Regions from separate parts of the Homo sapiens genome. Here regions 1, 2, 3, 4, 5 and 6 are each linked to region 7. The links are contacts of gene promoters, found by promoter capture Hi-C in blood cells and fetal thymus (Javierre and others, 2016). All regions are on one chromosome and are shown on one strand. The core of a region is centred on a gene start or on the middle of the fragment in contact, and the rest is flanking DNA. Distances in the headings are between cores, read along the strand shown.

The links. The method cuts DNA at HindIII sites, captures the fragments that hold promoters and counts their contacts. A CHiCAGO score of 5 or more calls a contact.
Region 1: a fragment that was not itself captured here is called in contact with the fragment with the promoter of CNNM3 in region 7 in 4 of 17 cell types (activated CD4 T cells, total CD4 T cells, naive CD8 T cells and 1 more); the score reaches 7.3 in activated CD4 T cells.
Region 2: a contact is called between a fragment that was not itself captured here and the fragment with the promoter of CNNM3 in region 7, in 4 of 17 cell types (activated CD4 T cells, naive CD8 T cells, non-activated CD4 T cells and 1 more). The highest score is 8.5, in activated CD4 T cells.
Region 3: a contact is called between a fragment that was not itself captured here and the fragment with the promoter of CNNM3 in region 7, in 3 of 17 cell types (non-activated CD4 T cells, total CD4 T cells and naive CD8 T cells). The highest score is 7.1, in non-activated CD4 T cells.
Region 4: a contact is called between a fragment that was not itself captured here and the fragment with the promoter of CNNM3 in region 7, in 14 of 17 cell types (neutrophils, megakaryocytes, monocytes and 11 more). The highest score is 10.5, in neutrophils.
Region 5: a fragment that was not itself captured here is called in contact with the fragment with the promoter of CNNM3 in region 7 in 1 of 17 cell types (total CD4 T cells); the score reaches 5.7 in total CD4 T cells.
Region 6: a contact is called between a fragment that was not itself captured here and the fragment with the promoter of CNNM3 in region 7, in 3 of 17 cell types (activated CD4 T cells, total CD8 T cells and naive CD8 T cells). The highest score is 7.7, in activated CD4 T cells.

The regions. Positions count from the first base shown.
Region 1 is chr2:96,410,282-96,413,943 of GRCh38, forward strand. No RefSeq gene overlaps it. Among named protein-coding and RNA genes, the nearest start is that of NCAPH, 76 kb to the left of the region's middle. The HindIII fragment of the contact is 4,622 bases long and covers 1-3,662 here.
Region 2 is chr2:96,389,624-96,393,220 of GRCh38, forward strand. No RefSeq gene overlaps it. Among named protein-coding and RNA genes, the nearest start is that of NCAPH, 56 kb to the left of the region's middle. The HindIII fragment of the contact is 6,592 bases long and covers 1-3,597 here.
Region 3 is chr2:97,106,938-97,110,546 of GRCh38, forward strand. No RefSeq gene overlaps it. Among named protein-coding and RNA genes, the nearest start is that of ANKRD36, 4.4 kb to the right of the region's middle. The HindIII fragment of the contact is 7,335 bases long and covers 1-3,609 here.
Region 4 is chr2:96,538,591-96,542,169 of GRCh38, forward strand. All of the region lies in intron 1 of ARID5A (AT-rich interaction domain 5A), which reads left to right. Among named protein-coding and RNA genes, the nearest start is that of ARID5A, 3.6 kb to the left of the region's middle. RefSeq lists an enhancer at 1-483. The HindIII fragment of the contact is 3,388 bases long and covers 112-3,499 here.
Region 5 is chr2:96,489,611-96,493,147 of GRCh38, forward strand. No RefSeq gene overlaps it. Among named protein-coding and RNA genes, the nearest start is that of NEURL3, 14 kb to the right of the region's middle. RefSeq lists an enhancer at 3,366-3,537. The HindIII fragment of the contact is 2,542 bases long and covers 668-3,209 here.
Region 6 is chr2:96,350,185-96,353,665 of GRCh38, forward strand. It overlaps NCAPH (non-SMC condensin I complex subunit H), which reads left to right. Exons shown (of 18, transcript NM_015341.5): 7 at 1,647-1,836; 8 at 3,122-3,213. Among named protein-coding and RNA genes, the nearest start is that of NCAPH, 16 kb to the left of the region's middle. The HindIII fragment of the contact is 4,387 bases long and covers 1-3,481 here.
Region 7 is chr2:96,814,603-96,818,322 of GRCh38, forward strand. It overlaps CNNM3 (cyclin and CBS domain divalent metal cation transport mediator 3), which reads left to right and starts at 1,666. Exons shown (of 8, transcript NM_017623.5): 1 at 1,666-2,900. The coding sequence starts at 1,676. RefSeq lists an enhancer at 813-932 and silencers at 1,273-2,252, 2,263-2,402, 2,413-2,522. The HindIII fragment of the contact is 9,370 bases long and covers 1-3,720 here.

The DNA of each region.
Region 1 (3,662 bases), core at 129-2,628, 400 kb before region 7:
CTTATTTTGAGATGGCTATTCAGAGAGGCTGCAAACAGAAGAAGGACTTTGAAAAGCTGCCTTTCGTGAGGGAGAGTTGCACCTGGAGAGAAAATCTATGTTAGTGAAATCAATGCCCAGGCTTTCCCTGAGGACCCTGTAAGCAAGTGGGGTGCAGGGGTGAGGGGGTTGGGGGATCTCAAAGGATTATAGGAATTTAATCAACTTAAGCAATCAGCCTGTTTTGGGTTTTTTTGTTTTGTTTTGTTTTTTGTTTTTTTTGAGACAGAGTCTCGCTCTTTCACTCAGGCTGGAGTGCCAGGCTGGAGTGTGATCTCGGTTCACTGCGAACTCCACCTCCCTGGTTCAAGGATTTCTCCTGCCTCAGCCTCCCGAGTAGCTGGGACTACAGGCTCGTGCTACCACGCCCAGCTAATTTTTGTATTTTTAGTAGAGACAGGGTTTCACCATGTTGACCAGGCTGGTCTTGAACTCCTGACCTCAGGTGATCCACCCACCTTGGCCTCTCAAAGTGTTAGATTACAGGCTTGAACCCCCACGCCCAGCCTATCAGCCTGTTTTACAGCCTCCTGCCCTGCAGCCTGTTTCTTCCAAGCCCTGTTTAGAATGCAGTCACCCACTTGATTCAAACCAGCTCCCAACAGACCCTAGCAACTTACAGATGAACCCAAGTGACCTTTCTTGTTACCATGCTAAAGTCTCCACCCCAGGAAGGGCTGCAGCTCAGCTCCATCACCATCACATGCGACCTATGTGCTGGCATGAGGATCACTGCGTCTGCACCTCTGGGACCCCTCCTCCACATGCGAAGACACATCCTCTCCCCCTCCATCGCCCCATGAAACCCTCCTGTCACTTTCCCTCAGGGGACACTGCCTTGGAGAATACTCCCAGGGTTCTACCTACTTGGGCCAGGTAATAAAACTTTTATTGATCAAAACCTGCATCCTCATGGAGAGTCATTTGTTACTCACCAGGCAAACAAACCCGGTTTTGGGGGTAATGCCTCCCTTATCTGAATCTAGGAAAGATTAACTCAGGAAAATAAACACTGAAGTCTGACACTTTTAAAGGTCTCAGAGAGAATCTTTTACCAAAGGCCACCATCTATTCTTTCTGAGGGCAGCTCTGAGTTTACCTGGGATTTTTTTTTTTTTTTTTTTTTCTCTTTTTCGGGACAGGGTCTTGCTGTGTTGCTCAGGCTGGAGGGCAGTAGTGCAATGAGAGCTCACTGCAGCCTCAAACTCCCAGGCTCTATAGATCCTCCCACCTTAGCCTCCTGAGTAGCTGGGACTACAGGTGCACACCACCATGCCCAGCTAATTTTTAAAAATTATTTTCAGAGATGGTATCTCGCTATGTTGCTAGGGCTGGTCTCAAACTCCTGGGCTCAAGCGATTCTCCTGCCTCAGTCTCCCAAAGTGCTGGGATTACAGGCATTAGCCACAATGTCCGGCTGAGGGATATTTTCATCTGCACCACAAGACAGCCTTTGTTAGACACACTTTCCCATAACCTGTGTCCCTCTATAACCTCAGGATGATGTAAAAACTTCAGTGGCCTGGCCCCTTCTTTGAGTCTTATATTTTGTATGTGTCTCTTCTGTTCATATGCATGTCAATAAATTTGTACATTCACACCAAAAAAATTATATTCCTTTTTTTCCTGTTTTGTTTTTTTTTTTTTTTTTTTTTTTTTTTTCAGACGGAGTCTTGCTCTGTCACCCAGGCTGGAGTGCAGTGGCGCAATCTCGGCTCGGCTCACTGCAACCTCTGCCTCCCCGGTTCAAGTGATTCTCCTGCCTCAGCCTCCCTAGTAGCTAAGATTACACGCCCAGCTAATTTTTGTATTTATAGTAAAGATGGGGTTTCACCATGTTGGCCAGACTGGTCTTGAACTCCTGACCTCAAGTGATCCTCCCTCCTCGGCCTCCCAAAGTGCTGGGATTACAGGCGTGAGCCACTGAGCCCAACCGTTTTTTCCTATTGATCTGTCTTTTGTTACAGAGGTGTCCCAGCTAGGAACTTATGAGGGTTGAGAAAAGAAATTATACATTTTTTTCTCCCCTTCACCTCCAAATTCCTATGTTGATGCCCTCACCACCAATGTGACTACATTGGGAGATAGGGCCTATAAGGAAGCAATAAGGGTTAAACGAGGTGAGGTCGAGGGTGGGACCCTGTTCTGCAGGATTAGTGACCTTGTAAGAAGAGACACCACGGCTGGGCACGGTGGTTCACGTCTTTATTCCAACACTTTGGGAGGCCAAGGGAGGAGGATCGCTTGAGTTCAGGAGTTTAAGACAAGCCTGGGCACCATGCTGAAACTTCATCTCTACTAAAAAGTACAAAAATTAGCTGGGTGTGGTGGCATGCACCTGTAACCCCAGCTAGTCAAGAGTCTGAGGCACGAATATCGCTTGAACCTGGGAGGCAGAGGCTGCAGTGAGCTGAGATCGCACCACTGTGTCAGAGGCGTGTTAACCAGAGCAACTCCATCTTGACTAAGAGCTGGGTAAAATGAGGCAGAACCCTACTGGGCTGCATTCCCAGGCAGTTAAGGCATTCTAAGTCACAGGATGAGATAGGCGGTCAGCACAAGATACAGGTCATGAAGACCTTGCCGATAAAACAGTTTGCAGAAAAGAAGCTGGCTAAATCCTACCAAAACCAAGATAGCCACAAGAGTGACCTCTGGTCGTCCTCACTGCTACACTCCCGCCAGTGCCATGACAGTTTACAGATGCCATGGCAACATCAGGAAGTTACCCGATATGATCTAAAAAGGAGAGGCATGAATAATCCACCCCTTGTCTAGCATATCATCAAGAAATAACCATAAAAATGGGCAACCAGGAGCCCTTGGGGCTGCCCTGTCTATGGAGTAGCCATTCTTTTATTCCTTTACTTTCGTAGTAAACTTGCTTTCACTTTGCACTGAAGACTCGCCCTGAATTCTTTCTTGCACGAGATCCAAGAACCCTCTCTTGGGGTCTGGATCAGGACCCCTTTCCTGTAACAACTGCACTCAAGCCTGGGTGATGAAGCAAGACCCTGTCTCTAAATAAATAAATAAGAAGGAAAAAAGAATAAGCTCCTTTATTCCTTCTCGTGTTTCCGCTTTAACAGTGCCACTTAGAGGACAAGAGCCAGAGGCTTGGTTTGGATAGGGTGTGTAGTCGGTGAACAAACAAGAGACAGGCTCTGGCTGGAATGGGGTGGGTGATTGGTCCAAGCCCAACAATTTTTCCTTAACATATGATACTCACTGGCTCCAAGTGCTGGGTGCTGTACACCCAGCAGACACATGGGTCCAGAAGACAGAGTTACAGGGAGGTTTAGAGAAGCGAGGGACAGGTGAATGGGGCAATGTCCAGGGCTGGGGGCCAGGCAGGGCATTCCACTGCTGCAACTGTAGTCCTGTTGATTGTTCCCCTAGGATTGGCCAGAGAAGCCCAATCTTAGCATTATCTTCCTGTGGCCCCATAACAATTTGTATAGTGGTCATAACATGTGTATTAGATGGGAGACTAAGATATGCCATCCCAAAATATACTTCTTTGACATATTTCAAGATGGCTATTCAGAGAGCCTGCAGGCGCAGGGATAGCTCTGAAAAGCTGTCCTTTCGTAAAAGAAATTTGCATCTATAAAGGAAATCTA
Region 2 (3,597 bases), core at 517-3,016, 420 kb before region 7:
TAGTAACTTTTGGTTGAACATTGGATATTGTAGATACAATGTTATAGTGACTTTGGATTCTGTCATGTTCTTCTAAAGATGCTTGGATTTTTATTCCAGTAAGCAGTTAATTGTCTGGATTCAATCTGCAAACTTCACATCCCTCACAGTGTAGTTATTGATATCTGTTCTTTTTGTGACCCGCTATTGCTTTAAGCCTGATCCCACAGGTCTTTCCTCTGCCTGCCAGATTTGGTGGCTAGCCAAGTATTTGGGCAGACATGGGGTTCATCGTGGCTGTGACTTCCTTGCTTCTAGGGATTCCCCTAATTTCCAGCCGCTCTGCCTGCTGTGTGCTCTGTCCTTAACTTCAGCTTTTTGAAACCCAAGATGCATGTGTTTGAGGCAAGGAGCATCAGACCCACAGCCCTTGTTCTGCATAGCTGTCTTTCAAGAGAAGACTCTTTCACCAGGCCCTGAGGGGTTTGCTTCACGTAGGCACAGCTGAACTGTCAGTGGAGCAAAGCAGCTCATGCCCAGAACTGTCTTGTTGTTTGCTTGTTTTGATTTTAGTTTTAGTTTAAAACTCTTCTGAGGCAGGGTGTGGTGGCTCAGGCCTGTAATCCCAGCACTTTGGGAGGCCGAGGCAGTAGGATCACTTAAGCCCAAGAATTTGAGACCAGCCTAGGCAACAGTGAGACCCTGTCTCTGAAAAAAAATCAATCAATCAATACATAAATTTTCCAGGCGTGGTGTCACACGCCTGTGGTCATAGCTACTTGGGAGGCTGAGGTGGAAGGATGGCTTGAGCCCAGGAGGTCAAGGCTACAGTGAGTTGCAATTGTGCCACTGCACTTCAGCCCGGGCGACAAAGCCAGACCCTGTCTCAAAAAACAAAAAACAACTATGGCTGAGTGCAGTGGCTTATGCCTGTAATCCCAGCACTTTGGGAGCTTGAGGCCAGAGGATCACTTTGAGGCCAGAGGATCACTTGAGCCCAAAAGTTCAAGACCAGCCTGGGCATTGTGGCGAGACCTCATCTCTACAAAAAATACAAAAATTAGCCAGGCATGGTGGCATGGGCCTGTAGTCCCAGCTACTCAGGAGGCTGAGGTGAGAGGATCACCTAAGCCCAGGAGGTCGAAGCTGCAATGAGCCGTGTTTGCACCAATTCATTCCAGCCTGGGGCTACAGAGCAAGATCCTGTCTCGAAAAAAATAAAAAATAAATAAAACTCTTCTGGTTTCTGTCTGATTTCCAGTATCTTTAAGTTTGGGGTTTTTGTTTTGTTTTGTTTTGATTTTTTTTTTTTTTTTAATACACAGAGTCTCACTCTGTTGCCCAGGCTGGAGTGCAGTGGCATGATCATAGCTCATTGTAATCTTGAACCTCTGGGCTCAAGCGATCTTCCTGCCTCAGCTTTTGGAGTAGCTAGGACAACAGGCACATGCCACTATGCCCAACTTATTAAAAAAAAAAAAAAGAAAGTTTTGTAGAGATGGAGTCTCTCTATGTTGCCAAGACTGGTCTTGAACTCCCAGCATCAAGGAATCCTTCTGCCTTGGCCTCCTAAAGTGTTAGGATTACAGGTGTGAGCCACCATACCTGGCCTTTAAGTATTTTTTTTAAATCCAGTATTTTACTGTTTTGAAAGCCCCCAGCTAAATTGGGGGTCCGGTACCACAGTGCCTAGCAACACCGCCCTAACACGAAATAAGCAGGAGCAGGATGTGGGTGTTTACACTGTGCCTTTCGTTACTTCTAACTGTGGACAGCCTGCTGCTTAGTTGTCTGATCCATGACCAGGTGTCCCTCACTGGGAAACTTGTTTATACTGGCAGACACCTGGTGGCCCTTGTCTGACCCATGTCCTGCCTGCCCATTGCTCTGATGCTAGGATCCTGACCTTGTGTTCTCCCTGGCATCCCAGGGAAAACTCCGCCTGGGGTAGCCCCTGGTTCTTCAGATGGAGGGCGCAGTACACCATAATCAGAAACAAGCTGAAAGATTTATTACTTTCAGATCCTGGGCAGGGAAGGCACAGTGAGTCAGGAGGATGTCTCCTGTCCCTGGCTCACACGAAGCAGGAACAAAGGGTCAGGCAGAAAGAGAGAGAGAGAGAGAGAGAAAGAAAGGGAGAGACAGAGAGAGAGGCAGCAACTGACAGTATGTATAAGGAGGCTCATCAGAGCCCAGGAGTATAGATAAGGAAATAGGATGTGGGTCACCTTAAGTTCATGCACAAATGCCTGAATGGTCCATTAAACAGAAGCAGCAGGAAAAGTGGGGAGCTGCTAGGTGAGAGAGCTGCTTCTAAGTTCTTACCTCTGGTCACCTGCTTGAACCATTTGGGTGTGTGGTTCTGCTTCTAATGCCTAGGCAGCAACCTTCGCTGTGTCATTCCCATGACATTTATCACTGTTGGTTTGGGGGTTGGCGTGCTCACTTAACTCCTGCCTCTACCAAATGGTCACTCTCCACCAGTTGCGTGTGTGTGTGTGTGTTTGTGTGTGTGTATTAGCCCTTGCATGTGTGTGTATTATCTTGCATTGCTGAAAAGTAATACCTGAGACTGGGTAATTTATAAAGAGGTTTAATTGGCTCATGGTTCTGCAGCCTATAGGAAGCATGACACAGGCATCAGCTCAGCTTCTGGGGAGACCTCAGGGAGCTTTTACTCACAGTGGAAGATGAAGCAGGAGCAGACATCTCACATAGCAGAGCAGGAGCAAGAGAAAGAGAGTAGGGGGCCAGGTGCAGTGGCTCACACCTGGAATCCCAGCACTTTGGGAGGCCAAGGTGGGCAGATCACTTGAGGTCAGGAGTTTGAGACCAGCCTGGCCAACATGGTTAAACCACGTCACTACAAAAAATACAAAAATTAGCTGGGCGTGGTGGTGCGCACCTGTGATCCCAGCTATTCAGGAGGCTGAGGCACGAGAATCACTTGAACCCGGAAGGTGGGGGTTGCAGTGAGTCAAGGTTGTGCCACTGCACCACAGCCTGGGTGACAGAGCAAGATCCTGTCTTTTAAAAAAAAAAAAAAGAGAAAGAGAGTGCAGTGGGGGAGATGCCACACACTTTTAAATGACCAGATCTCACGTGAACTCAGTCACTATTGCAATGACAGCACCAAGAAGATGGTGCTAAACCATTCATGAGAATTCTACACCATGTTCCAATCACCTTTCATCAGGCCCCATCTTCAATATTGGGGATTACAATTCAACATGAGATTACGTGGCATCATGTATTGAAACTGTATCAGTGTGTGATTGTATGTGTGTGTTTCCCACTGCACTCAGCACCCAAGCATGTATTGTTGACCCCACACCATCAGGTGGCCTCCGCCAGCCCTCTCCCCTCCTGTCCACTGAGCCTCCCAGCTCTTCATCCTTCCCCTGCACACTGACCTTTTATATCTGTCCCTGGAGCAAACCATGCCCATTTCCGCTTGCTGTTCCCTCTGCATGGAATGCTGTGTTCCCAGGTTTCCAAGTGTTGACTCTGCGAGAAAAGGCCACTCCAAGAAAGAGGGATCTTAAAGATTCAGCTTCCATGTTACTTCCTGGTGTGTCCTTTCCTGACCTCCCAACATATCCCCCACGTCCCTCTCAC
Region 3 (3,609 bases), core at 60-2,559, 290 kb after region 7:
TGCTATAAAGACACATGCTTTATATTTATGTTTATTGTGGCACTATTCACAATAGCAAAGACTTGGAACCAACCCAAATGTCCATTAATGATAGACTGGATTAAAGAAAGTGGCAAATATACACCGTGGAATACTATGCAGCCATAAAAAAGGATGAGTTCATGTCCTTTGTAGGGACATGGATGAAGCTGGAAACCATCATTCTGAGTAAACTATCACAAGGACAGAAAACCAAACACCGCATGTTCTCACTCATAGTTGGGAACTGAACAGTGAGAACACTTGGACACAGGATGGGGAACATCACACACCAGGACCTGTCAATGGGGTGAGGGGAGGGGGGAGGGATAGCATTAGGAGATATACCTAATGTAAATGACAAGTTAATGGGTGCAGCACACCATCATGGCACATGTATACATATGTAACGAACCTGCACGTTGTGCACAGGTACCCTAGAACTTAAAGTATAATAAAAAATCATATGAGAAAAAAAAACCTTCGCACGTACGTACCCTTTGAACCTAAAATAAAAGGTGGGAAGACAGAAATAAAATAAAAGAGATTGTCAGTGTAGATTAAAAAGTCGGACTCAACTATATGTAGTCTACAAGAAACACATTCTAAATATAAAGATGCACCTGCATAAATTAAAGGGATGCAGAAAGATATACCATACTAACACTTATCAAAAACACCCCCAACATATCTCTATTAATTTCAGGCAGAGCAGCCTTAAAGAGCAATAAAAGTTACCATAGATACAGAAGGACATTACCTAAGAAAAAGGAGTCAATTCTCCAAGAAGACATGACAATCCTGCATGTGTGTATGCACCTAACAACAGAGCATAGAAATATGTTTAATTTACACTTATCTTCTTATGAGCCATGTTGCGTAACTTTTCACATGTTTAAGATCAACTTCCAATTATTTTCCTATGAAATCTCTATGCGTATCTTTTTAATTTTTTCAATATATTGTTGGTCTATTTCCCCTAAATTTGTAAGAACTATTTGTATATGAGAGATAGCACCCCTTTGTCTATGATATAAGTTGCAAACCTATTTTCCTACTCTTTCATTTGTTTTCTGACTGTGGTGGTAGTCTTTTCTTGCCATGCAAAAAATTTTGTTTTGTTTGTCTTTGATGTAGTTGAATTGACCAGTCTTTTAAAATTGTGTCATTATTAGATGAGCGACTTTCTTTCCAGCTCACCTGAGAATGTGTTTTCCTGTTGAGCTACAGAATGAGCATTGGGTATTTTGTGTTCCTCTGAGAAAGAGAAGAGGTGTGTCTGGCAGCCAGGAGTTGACCTGGTCCTATCTGCCGGGAGTTGGCGATGCTGTGAGCTGCCTGGCACCCACAGATGGATGTTGATGTTCTCTTGTGAGCATAAACAATTCCATAGAACATCTGCTTCATACCATATCATTTTGTGCCAATACTTAAGACAAAAACAAGACCTCTTCATAATCATGTCTGAGCATGAGCAAAGCATGAGCATTGTTCATATCACACAAATGACCAATGTCTCTATTCTAGCTAAGAAGAGTAACTACTGTTTCTTCACCAACTACAGCTTTAACGTTCTTTACCAATTATAGCCTTAACCCATTAAGGCTTTAATACAGGTTTACATCTTTCTACATAAGATTTATTAAGATACCCTGCTATGCTAGAATTACCCCCACTTCCTGACAACACCCAATTCAGAACAAAGCCCCATTTCCTTAAACCCTTCTCCCAGATTATTGCCTAACACAACCCCAAATCCTCTAAGTCCTTTCTGATGTCCTCTTAGTGAGACACCCCACTGTTCCCTGTAGTTTGTATTCTCCCTCACTTAACCAGTAATAACTCACTTCTTCAACTACAGATGTGTTCATGGTGGCCTTTGATTGGAGCCCATTAACATCTCCACTTTTCCTGGTAGCCCAAGGGAATGAGGAGACAGTAGAGGGAAAGGGCGGCTGAGGGCTCTGAGCATTGGTTAGAATGCTTGGGCAACAGATGGCTCTTCCTGTTTCAGTACCATGAGGACTCCCCTGGGCATTGGTTTGCTTTCCTCATTCCATGTGTAGCCTTGACTTCTCTTAGAGGAAGTGCACCCTGATGTCCCTCCACCTTGTTTCTCCTGTTTCTCCCCAGCATCTGTTTCCACCAGTCACCAGCAAGTGAAGGATCGTATAAGGACACCCTTCAGTGTCAGTGTGCTTCACTATGCTCAAAATCACCGGATTTGGAGGTGGATGTGGAGGGTGGGGCTGGAGGATGGAAGAGGAACTTAGGAGCTAAATGCTGACCCTCTCTATTTTGCTCCAGAATGTTCTTTTCCTTTCTCTCTTTGAGTCACCAGTTTCTTTACTGTATTAGGCTATGCCCCTTTCCTTGTTTTATTGCTATCAGTTATTTCTTATTGGCCTTTATAATTTTGTTAGTACCGGGATGGAAAACTCTACAATATTGTTTTTTTCCAATACCGAAGGCATCTCCTCTCCTCATCCCTGCTCTCTCCCTCCAGTTAAAAAAGATAAACACTCCCTGTTGACAAATGTCTTTTCTCTTTTCTGTAGACTCTGCGAGTTCTCCTTTCAGTTTATGCTTTTGGAAACAAAAGTCCTTGTCTGTCCTTCAGGTGTGAGTCAGAGCCAGATTCCTGACTAAATGGAGGGAAGGTTAAGAAAAAATACAATGAGAAATTCATTATAAGAAATTATTTTGTTGTCATCTAGTCATGTAAGTTTTGTCTTTAGTGGTGGTAACGTGCTCATTCATCGTAGTTCGTTGCTCATGCCACGTGGTCATTGTCTCATGCTTATGGGCACCTCTCTTTAGTGACACCCACCTATTGGGGGGAGTCCCATTTGTAAAGAATTTTGTTGATGTGCTGAATACAAATTGATTTCCTACAGTCTTGTCTGTTTTGGGCTGCTATGAGAGAATACCATAGACTGAGTAATTTATAAACAACAGAAATTTGGTTTTTTCACAGTTCTGGAGGCTGGGAAGTCCAAAATCCAGGGGCCATTAGATTCATTGTCAGGTGAGTGTCTGGTCTCTGTTTCCAAGATGTCGCCTTGAAGGCTGCATCTTCCAGAGAGGAGGAGTGCTGTGTCCTCACATGGCAGGAGACTGAAGGGCAAAAGGAGTCTAACTTCCTCCATCATTCCTTTTTCTAAGCATATTTAATCCTATTCATGAAGGCAGAGCCCTCATAGCCTAATCACCTCCAAAAGTCCCCACCTCTTAATACTATCACATTTGTAATATTTGATTTCTGGAGGGGATACATTCAAACCATAGCAGATGCTCATGAAAGTAGAAACAGTGGCTAATGCCAGAGAAAGAAGCTGAGGATCTGGGAAGTCTTACTTGTGGATTTTACGTTGTATGTTCCATTCCCACATGTAAATAAATGAGTTAATTGAAATGGAAGAAAATGAGGAAAGATGGAGAATTGTGTCATGGAACAATGGACAGCAGTCATAACATAATGGGTGAAAACAAAGCTCAAATACATGAGGATGATTATATCTTTAATAGCATCTCGAAGCTGTAAGAGATCATCAAGTCTTGACTTCTATGTTAAAAAAGAAAGAAAACTGA
Region 4 (3,579 bases), core at 556-3,055, 280 kb before region 7:
CAAACTGCTGGAGCAAGCTCGCGTAGACTCGGCCTGGCCGCCGCTCCCGGGCTGCCGAGTGGACCGGCCGTTTCGCCGCTTCAAAGGCTGTCTTTGTTTTGCTCCAGCTCAAGCTTAGAGAAACTTAAGCCAACAACCTCAGCCGAGGGGGCGGGGCGGCGTCTGCTGGTTGTTATTGAGGCTGCTGTTACCATTATTGTGGTAATTGACGCAGTGTTCCCAGTCGGTGACTTTTCATGAAAGGAAGTGTCACTTCCTTCCCATCACACCCAGGGTGAGTGGGGCGGGCAGCAGAAAGATGGGGAGGGAGAGAAGGAAAGGGGTGTGTGCCTCCAGCAGACCCTTAAACTTGAGAGCTGTGTGGCCTTGTACTAGTCACTGCCCCTCTCTGGGCAACAGGGGTCTGTAAGTCCATTGCGCTCATCCTGCACCCAGGAGGCTGATGTTTCCGGAGCACCTGCTGGGCAGCGAGGTGCCTTGGGGAGGGAGCAGGACAGGCAGGCCTCTGATCTTCTCACTGAGCCTGGCTGTGGTTTGTGGGGGAAGCCTCCTTTCTCTTCTCACTTTTTTCTGCTGAGAACATTGGGCACATTGAGTCTAGCACGCCCATCTTGTAGATGGGGAAAGGGAGATACAGAACCAGTGACCAACTTGGTAAGAGGTGCAGCCATGCAGTGCTGGAACCCCTTGCCCCATCTGTCCTCTTGGCCCACTTTCATCTGCTTCCAGCTTGATGTCTGGCAGGGCAGGGGCCCACTGACTTCCCCGCATCCACCCACTGCCTGGCCCCATAGCTACCTTCTAGTCCTGGCTAAGCCCCGTGAGACATCTTAAGTTTGTCTTCAGTGACTCTCAACCACCGCCCGACTGCCTTCACCTTCCTGCCTTTGCATACCTGCCTTTGCTTCGCCAGGTTGGTTGGGCCCTGGCCAGAGCTGGCCCCCTACTCTCTCAGGTAACAGGTAGCAGTTTTTTAAATGGAATCTCAGTAGGTATCAACAGGTCTTTCCTCCTTCCTCAAGATTATGGAGATAACACCCCTTATTCAAAGATGGTGGGTCCTCTGGGCCCTCCCCGACCCAGGCCAGGGAAGTTGATTCATAGAGTGTGGGGGCCATGCCCCTTCCCGGCCCTCCCCCTCTCCCCGCTGCTGCCCAGCTCTCTGACCAGCCCCCTCCCATCCCTGAGCCTGGATGCCTTAGCAGTCAACACAGACCTGCTCTTGTTAGCAGAGTGACAGGAGCGATGTGCTGGGAAACTGCACATCTACTTGGGGAAAGGGGACAAGTTTGCATCCTCTGAGCACAGATAAGGAACTTGAGGTCTCCCTGCTCCCATTAGAAAGAAAAAAATCTCTAGCTCTCAGGGATCAGCGTCTCTCAGGAGTCAGACTACCCTGGTTCTGAATCCCAGCTCTGCCATGGATAAGCTCTGTGGCCCCAGGCAAGTTACTGAACCTCTCTGAGCCTCAGACATTATATCTGTTATATCTGGATGGCTGGGAAGATTCAGCAATGCAATGTTGTATGAGATGCCTAGCCCACACCAGCCAGGGCACTGATTTGAGTCGGTGGAGCATGTAACTTGAGAACAAGTAGACCTATGGGAGCATCCTCTACTGGAGGCAGTGACAGACTAACATCTTCAGTGCTGGAGTTTTAGGATCTGGGAGTTGAGCTTGACTCAGACAGGAGCTATGGAGTTGGAAAGAAATCAGACTCATAGCACAGGAAGAGCCTCAGGCAATCCTCCTGCCCAGCACCCTGCCGCACCCCCTCTCTGCTTAGTAAGGGACTGGGTCACTAGGAGCCCAGGCTCATCTTCTGGCGCAGCCACCTAGCCTGCCTCGGCCCTCTTCCCAGCAGTGAAATGAGGAAATCGCAGGGGGGCTTTTGTGGAGTGAACTACTGTTATCAGGGTTTTTCTAACACCATTTTCTAGCTGCACAAAACTCAAGGAACAAACTAGGAATAAACCTCCCCAAGAAAGCACAGGGGCTTTTTAAGAAGGAACTTCTGAGGACTGCAGAGGGAAACCTGAATTATGGAGACACATGGTCCTGAAAAGAAAGATGCAATACTGTAAAGGTATTATTTCTCCTCAAAGTAGTTTCTAAATTTAAATGCAATCAAAGCCCCAGTAGTGGGGGTTTTTTGTTTGTTTGTTTGTTTGTTTTGGAGACGGAGTCTCTGTCACCCAGGCTGGAGTGCAGTGGCCTAATCTCAGCTCACTGCAACCTCCACCTCCTGGGTTCAAGCAATTCTCCTGCCTCAGCCTCCCGAGTAGCTGGGATTATTGGCGTGTGCCACCACGCCCACTAATTTTTGTATTTGTAGTGGAGATGGGGTTTCACCATGTTGGCCAGGCTGGTCTCGAGCTCCTTACCTCAAGTGATCTGCCTGCCTTGGCCTCCCAAAGTGCCAGGATTACAGGCGTGAGCCACCGCACCTGGCCTTTTTTTTTTTTGAGAAGGAATCTCGCTCTGTCGCCAGGCTGGAATGCAGTGGCGCGAGCTCAGCTCACTGCAACCTCCACCTCCTGGGTTCAAGCGATTCTCCTGCCTCAGCCTCCTGAGTAGCTGGGACTACAGGCATGCGCCACCACCCCCAGCTAATTTTTGTATTTTTAGTAGAGACGAGGTTTCACCATGTTGGCCAGGATGGTCTCGATCTCTTGACCTCATGATCTGCCCGCCTCGGCCTCCCAAAGTGTTTTTGTTTTTGTTTTTTTTTAAAGGGAATGTAACAGAATTATCCCAAAGTTCAAATGGAATATTTTTAAAAGATGAGTAATATTGGGCAACTTGCCCTCTGGATAGTAAGTTGTTTTATAAAGCTACAAAAATTAAAACAGTGTGCACAGGTCCTAGCATCCCACTGTGGATGAGACAGAATAGAAAGTCCAGAAATAGTCCCAGATGTGTTCCTTATAAGCACTGACATTATGGGGAAAGTAGCATTTTACACCATTGGAGGAGGAGGCTACTCACTGGGGCCCCCAACCAATGAGGGGAAAGTATGGCTAGGATCCCTATTTCATCCTGTATACTGGAATAGATTCCAGATGTGTTACAAGTGAGTAATGAGACAATAATCACCATCATCATCATTATTGCTTGCTGGATGGAGAAAGGTGAAGTCTGGATGACATTCTTATGGAGAGCAGTTTTCTTTTTTGCATTTGATCCCCCACTTCTGTTACAAATAAAACATGTAAGGCATTGTGCCAGAAAAGAATCTGCACACACAGGCTGGGAACAAGGCAGTAGTGCGGTGGCTCACAGCAGCAGCAGCAGCTATCAGGGGCAAGTGGGTTTCTCCTGCCTCTGTGGGCTGAGTGGGGCTGGGAGACGGGGCCTCCAGCTCCATAAGCCTTTTCCCTCCTCCACAGAGCCAGGAGAGGGCCCACCCCACCATGCAGGTCCTGCCTGCCTGGCTCCCAGCTCTCTACCTCCCAACGCTGGACCTGCATGGCCCAACATCTATGGCAGCGGGTTTCAAGCTTATTTTTTATAGCAGAACCCCTTTTACAAATATAACCCTGATCTGTGAATGATCAGGGAAAGGGAGGGATTAGGGC
Region 5 (3,537 bases), core at 689-3,188, 320 kb before region 7:
AAAATAAATACATAGATATAACATTTTCTTTATCCATTCACCTATCAATGGACACTTAGGTTGTTTCCATATCTTGACTATTGTGAATAATGCTGGAGTGAACATAGCAGGGCAGCCATCTCTTCAAGATCCTGCTTCTATTTCCTTCAGATACATACTCAGAAGTGAGACTGTTAGATCATATGATAGTTCTATTCTTAATTTTTTGAGGAACCTGCATACTGTGTTCCTATTTTTTAAGCCATGCAATTGGAAACGCACTGTTTTTCATAATGACTGTAGCAGTCTGTATCCCCACCAGCAGTATATAAGGGTTCCTGTTTCTTCATATCCTCACAACCACTTGTTATCTTTTGACTTTCTGACATTAGACATTCTAACAGGTGTGAGGTGATATCTCATTGTGGATTTTATTTGCAGTTTTCTTGATGATTAGTGATATTGAACACCTTTTAATATACGTATTGGCCATTGTTATGTCTTCTTTGGAGAAATGTCTATTCAGGTCTTTTGCCCAGTTTTAAATCAGGTTATTTGTTTTTCTAATATTGAGTCATATGAGTCCCTTATATATTTTGGATATTAACCCCTTATTGTATACAAAATATTGCAAATATTTTCTACTGTGGCCTTTTCAGTTTGTTGATTGTTTCCTTTGCTATGCAGAAGCTTTTTAGTTTGATGCAGTCCCACTTGTTTTTGCTTTTGTTACTCATGCTTTAGATGTCATATCCAAAAAATCATTCTTCTAGGAGTTTTACGGTTTCAGGTCTTACATTTAAGTCTAATCCATTTTCAGTAGACTTTTGTGCATAGTGTAAGATAGGGTCCAATTTTATCCTTTTTCATGTGGCTATCCAGTTTTCTCCATACCATTGATTGAAGAGACTGTCGCTTCCCTATTCTGTATTCTTGGTGCTTTGTTGAAGATAAGTTGATCATATATGCATGGGTTTATTTCTAGGATCCTTATTCTGTTTTATGGATCTATTTTTCTGTTTTTATGCCAGTACCATACTGTATTGATTACTATAGCTTTGTAGTATAATTCAAAATCAGAAAGTGTGTTGTCTCAGCAGGTGCAGTGGCTTGCACCTGCAATCCCAGCTATTCAGAAGGCTGAAGTCAGAGGATCACTTGAGGTTAAGAGTTTGAGACCAGCCTAGGCAACATATTGAGACTCAGTCTCTACAAATAAAAATAAAAAATAAAACAAAATAAGAAGCCAGGCATGGTAGCACATGCCTGGAGTACCAGCTGCTTGGGAGGCTGAGGCAAGAGGATAGCTGGAGCCCAGGAATTTGAGGCTGCAGTGAGCTACGATTGTGCCAGCCTGGATGACAGGGCTAGACTATATACATTTTTAAAAATCCTTTTATCCAATTTCCTGACTTTTGTTGGGATGCAGGAATTGAAGTTCTATTATTTTCACATGATTTGGAATTTATATATTTTATTTGTAGTTCTACATTTTGTTTGTATGTTCTTTACCATACAAATTAAACTTATTTTTTTCTCATTTATATTGTTAAAAATAACTTCTTCCTAGCCAGGTGTGGTAGCTCACACCTGTAATCCCAGCACTTTGGGAGGCCAAGGCGGGCAAATCACCTGAGGTCAAGAGTTCAAGACCAGCCTGGCCAACATGGTGAAACCTTGTCTACTAAAGATACAAAAATTAGCCAGGCATGGTGGCAGGCACCTATAATCCTAGCTACTCGGGAGGCTGAGGCAGGAGAATTGCTTGAACCCAGGAGGCAGAGGTTGCAGTGAGCCAAGATCATAATGTTACACTCCAGCCTGGGCAACAAGAGCAAGACTCTGTCTCAAAAAAACTAAAAAAATTTTAAAAACCCTCTTCTTGATAAGAAAAGAACCTTAGCATGCTTTTTATTTTTGCCATTCCACCCATGTTGATATCATCTGTGGTTTTCATTTCAAATTATTATTAATTTTTTACAATTAACATTTACTTAGATTCAACTTTTTTTGCTTTTAATGGTTACAATCATACTAATTTTTCTTGTTTTTTCTTTTTTCTGAAGTGATTCTTCTAATAATTTGCCTATAAAGTATCTGTTAAATGATAAACTTTGAGTCTTTTTATATCTGAATATTTCTTCATTTTACGCTCACCTTTGAATGAGAGAGTCGCTGTCTGCAGAATTTTAGATTTCAAAATTATTTCCTCATCAAAATGGGGACTTAAGATCTGTGCATAGGCCAGGCACAGTGGCTCATGCCTATAATCTCAGTACTTTGGGAAACCAACACAAGTGGATCACTTGGGCCCAGGAGTTCAAGACCAGCCTGGGCAATATTGCAAGATCTCATCTGTACTAAATATTAAAAAATTAGTCAGGTGTGGCAGCATGTGCCTGTAGTCCCAGCTTACTCTGAAGGCTGAGGTGGGAGGATCACCTGAGGCCAGGGAGGCGGAGGCTGCAGTGAGCCATGATTGTGCCACTGCACTCCAGCCTGGATGACAGAGTGAGACCTTGTCTCAAAAAGAAAAAAAAAAGATATGTGCATATTATTATAGTAAATATGCTTCAATTAAAGAAAATCCCCCTGAACTTTGAAGATATTGTTCTATTGTCATTCTGTACCAAGTATTGCTGAGAAAAAGCCTACTGATAATGTGATTCTAATACTTTTGTGTGTGATCTGTTTTGGGGTGTTTTTTTTTTCTTCTTGGGTTTTCTGTTTATCCCTGGTACTCTGAAATGTCACCAGTATGTGTCAAAATGAAAGTCTTTTCTTCACTTATTCTGTTTGGCAACTGGGGGGCTTTTTCAATCTGAAAAGCTATGTCTTTCTTCAATTCTGAGAAATTGTTCTTTTATTTTTATTTCTGGTAGAGATGGGAGTCTTATATGTTGGCCAGGCTGGTCTTGAACTCCTGGCCACAAGCGATCCTCCCACCTTGGCCTCCCAAAGTGCTGGGATTATAGGCATGAGCCACCATGCCCAGCTCTAATCTTTCTTTGAGTTTCTCTTTTGTCCATTTTCTCTATTTTTTTCTTCTGGAATTCACATTGGATGGTTATTTGAACTTCATCTATTCTGTTTATTCTCTTTTTATATATTTCATCTCTTGTTAATTTTGGAATGCATTCTGGTTGATTCCAGATCATTAATACATTTTTCAGCTACATACTTTCTGCTACTCACTCTATCAAATAAGTTATTTTAAATTTTAATAGTCAAGCTTCTAATTCCAAAGGTATCTAGATTTTTCAATGCAATATCCTTTCATATGTGATTATAGTTATCCTAAAGCCCAGGTTTGTATGCTTTATTAACCCTATTTTTTCAGGTATGAACTCCTTTTGCTGTCAGTCCTTTCCATCATGATATTCACTTTTTTCAAATATTTGGCTTTTCTTGGCTGTGAGTTCACCTTTGGATCTGAAATTCCTTGTTAGCCTAAGTGGCCTGCTTGCAGACAGGTGCAGGACATGCAGCTATGACTTGGTGTACCTGTGTAAAGTGGAATGAAGGGATGGGATGTGCTGCTGGGCAGCATGAGCCAAT
Region 6 (3,481 bases), core at 111-2,610, 460 kb before region 7:
AGGTTTCATCTACTCAAACTACACAGTCAGCCATAATTCATTGTCCCATTGAATTGCTTGGGGATATAAATCCCTCTGTTGTCACACATGATATAATTCTAGACACAAGTGAGGAACATTATCATAGTGCTTTCAGCTTTAATGTGGGTCAGTGTACAATTTCCATGTTGGCTCTGAAGTGCTGAGTATAGTTCCGTTAACTACCTACACAAGACTTTTAGGGGTGCAGGGCTCCAGGTGGGAAACCATTACTCTGGATAGCATTTGAGAATGGAATAGGAGTAACCTATTTTTAGGTATTTTTAGGATGGGGAAAAAAAATAGGTATTTTTAGGATGGGAATTGGGAGAGGCCAGAGATAAGGGTCATATTGCTGGCTCTGGGGATGGAAAGATGCACTGGGAGGAAACCGACTTGGACGTGTGGCTGCCTGAGGGCTAAAGGGATGGGAGAATGTGGAGATGACGAATGTGCTGCTCTGGGACAAAGAATGGTGAGATGGGTTTATGGTACGGCAGGAGCTGAACCTCAGTTCTGATGAGCTTGGACTCCGAGCTAAGGGGACCAGGGAAGAGCCAGGGAGGCACATCTGTGTTGTCCTATCCAAGCCCCTCTCTCTCCATAGTAGCCACGTTCTGAGGCATCAGGAAGACCTGTGAACCCCATACCCAACCGTATCTCCTGTCTCAAGGTCACCTGCAGAGTCCCAGGGGGCTTCTAGCCTCTTGCTGCACATGTGTGTGATTCACCCTGTCCCTGTTCTTATGCCCAGTGCCTGTTTTTGCCTTTGGGCTTGGTGTCATATGGCCATGCCATTCCTGCTCCTGACCCAGCCTTAGGGACCTTCTTAAAACCTCTCTCAGGTTTCACCCAGCCAGCTAGCCCTACTGACTCTGTCCTTTGCCTGGATATCTTGGGTATGTTCTTCCAAACTTTAGAAGATATTTCTGTTCAGAGGAACAATAGAGCCCTGTGACTAGCCCTATCATACAGGCTTTTTAAGCCAATGGCATTTGTTAGTGACTTATAGAAGGAGACCAGCAGCAAGGATACACGTCCAGATGTATTATAAAAAAGCCATTTGACACAGTGTACACTTGCCACCACATACTGTCTTCTGGAGCAGTATATGTTTATCTCCTGACTATAACCAGCCTTTCTTTTGAACCGGGATTTTATCTGCTCAATTAGAAAGCCACTTTTGTTGGGTGCGGTGGTTCACAACTGTAGTCCCAGTACTTTGGGAGGCCAAGGTGGGTGGATCACTTAAGGTCAGGAGTTCAAGACCAGCCTGGCTAATATGATGAAACCCCGTCTCTACTAAAAATACAAAAATTAGCCAGATGTAGTGGTGCGTACCTGTAGTCCCACTACTCTGGAGGCTGAGGCCCAAGAATCGCTTGAGCCTGGGAGGCAGAGGTTGCAGTGAGCCAATATCATGCCACTGCACTCCAGCCTGGGCGGCAGAGCAAGACTCCATCTCAAAAAAAAAAAAAAAAAACAAAAACAAACCACTTTTGACCATGAGTGGAGATATTTCAGTCCAGTGTATATACCTGCTAATGAGTGGGGCCAAATGCATGAGAATTTATCTTTCCCTTGGCTACATGCCGTAAATCTTCAGTTTCTTCTCTCTCTGTGTTCAGATTGATCCCATGTTTCAGAAGACAGCAGCCTCATTTGATGAGTGCAGCACAGCAGGGGTGTTTCTGTCCACTCTCCACTGCCAGGACTACAGAAGTGAACTGCTGTTTCCCTCTGATGTCCAGACTCTCTCCACGGGAGAACCTCTCGAGTTGCCAGAGTTAGGTTGTGTAGAAATGACAGATTTAAAAGGTAAGTACAAGTGATGCCTTTCACCAGAGCATTTCAGTCATTGGGGAATTTTTTTACATAACCATGGGGTACAATAAGCCCATCATGCTCTTATGTTGCTTAAATTACCCAGAAGTTTCCTCTGGAATGCCAAATTGTGTATCCTTTTGGGAGTGCCTTGCAACCCACTAACTTTTGTCTTCTCTGCGGCGTGGAGTCTAAAACGGTAAACCATCGCCTCTTGGTCTTGATGTGCCCGGTACCTTAGGTGCCCACTGTTTGCAGTCAGCTCTCCAAGTCACATTTGGGAGACCTGGGTTCCTCCTGGAGTGTCAGTTTGTTCTTGGGAAGGGGACTTAGAGAGACCTTTGCCTAGCCAGAGAGGCTTTGTTTTTATTTGCTCCCCATCCAGGGGGCCCTGAGGAGAAGAGAGCGTTGTGAATTGTTTTGAGACTCCTCTGCAGCAGTCTAAGAACTGATCTCTCCTATTATCAGTCCCCTATACTGGCTTGACAGAGATTTTAGCATCCCTCCCATATACGCCTCCACGCCTGAGTTGGGGGTTCTCCTTGGGATGTTGTAATGAGGTGCCAGCAGGTAGGGAGGCCAGGTGCGTGCAGTGCAGTAGCTACACTTGGGGTCCCAGAAGAGCTGCCCCCTCCTGCACATTTCCAATGCAGTGTTCGTACTCTCGCTGATCTTCATCTCAAGTGCGGTCATTTTTATGTGTTGAATGAAATTAATACTTCCCCTCCAGGCTGGGCAGTTGTTAGCTCCCATTCTTGTCATTTCTATTCTTGCCTCAATTTTGTTTAGTATAGTTTTTGTGCTAACGATCTATTTTCCAAGTTTGTGCTCTCATTTGGGGCTCTAATCCCCTGAAGTAAGTCTTCTCTAGTTTGGGACTAAAAATAAGTTAAAGTACCATTACATGATTGCCTATGTACTTGGTGTATTTTTAAGACGAAGCGTTTGATTTCCCAGCTATAGCATAGGTCACAGAATTCATTTCAGAATCGAATGTCTGTGCTTTAGGTTTCTCCTCTAGTATTTTACTAATTTGTGCGATGACAGTGCATAGCCTCACTCCAGCGTGGGTGTGGCCGACGCATCTGCTCGCTCCCAGAAGAGGCAGGGACACAGACTGGCAGCTAGCCAGCCACTGATGATACTTGAGCCTTTGCTGGAGGACAGTGAGGTAACTGTGCCTCTCATCTCTCGTCCCACTCAGTATCATTCTGAAGGGAGTAAGGAATGCACTTGACCCCCTTCTAATCTCTCTTTGTGATCTTGCTATCCTCTCCAGCGCCCTTGCAGCAGTGTGCAGAAGATCGCCAGATCTGCCCTTCCCTGGCCGGGTTCCAGTTTACACAGTGGGACAGTGAAACACATAATGAGGTGTGGTCAAGTTTTAGTGGCTCATGGTTTCAGTTAGTTGGCTCAAGAGTGGTCCTGCCCAATGGGAACCAAAACTGTGGCATCATCTTTATTTAGCCAGGAGTACAGAAAATATTTCCTTTGGCACTTCTGTAGGGACAAAAACCCTGAGGGAGGAGGGTAGGGTTGTGAACCCCAGCAGGACTATTCTAGAGGTAAGTGAGTTCCAGGATCAGCTTTATGTCCTCTCTTCTGCTATCCTAGGGTAAGGCGGCCCTGGCATTAATCA
Region 7 (3,720 bases), core at 416-2,915:
GGCGTGAGCCACCGTGCCCGGCCAGCTATTACCATCTTTTAAAAAGTTTTTTACAGGCCGGGCGCGGTGGCTCACGCTTGTAATCCCAGCACTTTGGGAGGCCAAGGTGGGTGGATCACGAGGTCAGGAGATCGAGACCACGGTGAAACCCCGTCTCTACTAAAAATACAAAAAAATTAGCCGGGCGTGGTGGCGGGCGCCTGTAGTCCCAGCTACTCGGAGAGGCTGAGGCAGGAGAATGGCGTGAACCCGGGAGGCGGAGCTTGCAGTGAGCCGAGACTGCGTCACTGCACTCCAGCCTGGGTGACAGAGCGAGACTCCGTCTCAAAAAAAAAAAAAAAAGTTTTTTACAAAGCCTTTTCCTTTGGTCACTCACCACCAGCTTACTCATTTTTTTTTTTTTTTGCACATTACCTTCCACACAAGTTTTACTTTGTGGCCACAATGTGCATACTTTTTTTGATTGTTACTTTCATGACATAGCAAATTGTTTCTATAGAGTCTTTATAAAGGTCATTTAAAATGACATGTGCAGTAAGTCAAAGTCTTCTTGTGCTAGGAAATTTGAAAAAACAAAAGTGTAGAGAAAAATACAAAAATTACTGAATCTGAACATCTATAGAGAAGTGTTGTTAGCAGTTGGTTTATTTCCTTCCAATCACATACAGATCATATCTGATGGGTAAAGAATATTCCATACTGTCAACAGACCACACTGTCTTCTAAAATCGCTTCAGCAGTGAGGATCCTCTGGAATAGATCTTGTTAATCCTGAGGAATTATTCTCCCAGCGGTGAGCTATGAGAAGTGGAATCACCAGATGTAGTAATTCCTGACAGAACTGCCGCCTGCTTGTGTGGCTGAGATGCTGACCTAGGTATCAGGCTGGTCGCGCCGGAACCCAGCACCCACGCTGAGTCTTTCTGAGCTCCACTCTGCTCCTGTTAGATATTAACCACCTGAGGTAGCTGTCCAGATTCAAGGCGGTAGTGATTTTGTGTGTCTGTGTATTTATCACGGGGTCCGCGGCGGGAACGCAGGGGCTGTGTCCCACGTCCCCAAACCTCTAGTAGGGTACGGCGCGATGAACATCTTCCATAAACCTTAAACCTCCCGGCGCTCAGTCACTGGTTCTTATTTCAGCCCTCTTAGCCCCGTAGGTCGGCGCGCTGAAAACCTTTCTGGTACCTGGGGCCTTTCCTAAGAAAAAGGCACATGTCTCGCACATTTCAGTCTGGTCTGCAACTTCAGGCGCGCCAGCACCCGAGGTTCTTCCGACCGGCCGCTCCGCTCCCAAGCCGGGAACTTCCCAGAGAATTGGCTCGGCCTCCGGGCGCGGGGGACAGCATCGGGAGGAGTGGGACTCCGGGCGCCGCGCACGGGCCGAGGACAGCCGGGCTTGGGAGGCCCTGCCCGCCGCCCCGCGTCCTCCCGGCCACTGCCACCCCGCGCATCCGGAGCCGCAGCAGACTCGGCGGGGCCCGGAGCCCCACGCCCCCGGCCCGCCCCTGGCCGCCACTTGTTTACTCCCCGGCGCAGCCTAGTCCGACCCTGGGGCCCGCCCCCGCCCACCGCCTATTGGCCGAGGAGGCGCGAAGAGCCGTAACGATTGGCCCGGGGAGGCGCGGGGCGAGCGGGGTAGGCTGCGCGAGAGGCCGAGAGGGGGCAGCAGGCGATGGCGGCGGCGGTAGCTGCGGCGGGTCGGTTAGGCTGGTTGTTCGCCGCGCTCTGCCTGGGCAACGCCGCGGGGGAGGCCGCGCCGGGCCCGCGAGTGCTGGGCTTCTGCCTGGAGGAGGATGGAGCGGCGGGCGCGGGTTGGGTACGCGGAGGGGCGGCGCGGGACACGCCGGACGCCACCTTCCTCCTGCGCCTCTTCGGCCCGGGCTTCGCCAACAGCTCTTGGTCCTGGGTGGCCCCGGAGGGGGCGGGCTGCCGGGAGGAGGCGGCCTCCCCCGCGGGCGAGTGGCGCGCGCTGCTGCGCTTGCGCCTGCGGGCCGAGGCCGTGCGCCCGCACTCGGCGCTGCTGGCGGTGCGCGTGGAGCCGGGTGGCGGGGCGGCTGAGGAGGCGGCGCCGCCCTGGGCTCTGGGCCTGGGGGCGGCCGGGCTGCTGGCGCTGGCAGCGCTGGCGCGAGGCCTGCAGCTGAGCGCGCTGGCGCTGGCGCCTGCCGAGGTGCAGGTGCTGCGCGAGAGCGGCTCGGAGGCGGAGCGTGCGGCGGCGCGGCGTTTGGAGCCCGCGCGGCGCTGGGCCGGCTGCGCCTTGGGCGCGCTGCTGCTGCTGGCCAGCCTGGCGCAGGCGGCGCTGGCGGTGCTGCTGTACCGCGCGGCCGGCCAGCGTGCGGTGCCCGCCGTGTTGGGCAGCGCGGGGCTCGTGTTCCTGGTGGGAGAGGTGGTGCCGGCCGCCGTGAGCGGGCGCTGGACGCTGGCGCTGGCGCCGCGAGCGCTCGGCCTCAGCCGCCTGGCCGTCCTGCTCACTCTGCCCGTCGCGCTGCCCGTGGGGCAGCTGCTGGAGCTGGCGGCGCGGCCCGGGCGGCTGCGGGAGCGGGTGCTGGAGCTGGCGCGCGGCGGCGGCGACCCCTACAGCGATCTCAGCAAGGGCGTGCTGCGCTGCCGGACCGTGGAGGACGTGCTCACGCCCCTCGAAGACTGCTTCATGCTGGACGCCAGCACCGTGCTGGACTTCGGCGTCCTGGCCAGCATCATGCAGAGCGGCCACACGCGCATCCCGGTGTACGAGGAGGAGCGCTCCAACATCGTGGACATGCTCTACCTCAAGGACTTGGCCTTCGTGGATCCCGAAGACTGCACGCCGCTCAGCACCATCACTCGTTTCTACAACCATCCGCTCCACTTCGTCTTCAACGACACCAAGCTGGACGCTGTCCTGGAGGAATTCAAGCGAGGTAACGGCCCGGGCATGGTGCAGGGGACGCCCGTGCGAGTGCCCTCTCCCTGAAAAGGGGTGGAGAGTTATGGAAGCCTTCTGGAAAGGGTCCCACCCCTGTGGAGAGCAGTGAGACCTCTAAGGTCCCTTTTCAAGACGGTATTGGCCTTGCAGCTTGGAATGACCTTTTGAAATACTTAAAGGCCATCGATCAGAGTGGGAGGAATCCTTTAGACAGCGAACACTTTAACCCCCGCGTCAGGATAGCCCCCCCCCCCCATTTGCAGGGAGGGGTATGTCCGCTTGTCCTCTAATCCCCCAGCTCTTTCCCTCTCCCAGAGTGTTTCTGTGTGCTTGACTTTGTAGCAGGTCCAAATTTTTGGATAGAAACTAGAAGAACATAGAAAAGATGGTAGTCTCCAGGTATCTGGGATATTGTTGTGTGCACACATGTAATATCAAATTGACTGGACCTGTAATGTTTCCTTCAGAGCATTCTTAAGGTCCCTGGCGTTACTGCAGATAAGGGTATTTAGGTGTCAATCCCTTATCTGCGGTAAAGTCAGGGAAACTTAACACTTTGCTTTCACCAAAAGTAACTCCATTTATGCTGACTTAGTCTCCCTTTCTCCCAGCTCTGTCGCGCAGGCTGGAGTGCAGTGGCCGATCTCTTATCACTGCAACTTTCGCCTCCCAGGTTCAAGCAGTTCTCCTGCCTCAGCCTTCGAGTAGCTGGGACTACAGATGCACCCCACCATTCCGGGCTAATTTTTGTATTTTTAGTAAAGATGGGGTTTCACCACGTTGACCAAGCTGGTCTTGAACTCCTGACCAGGTGA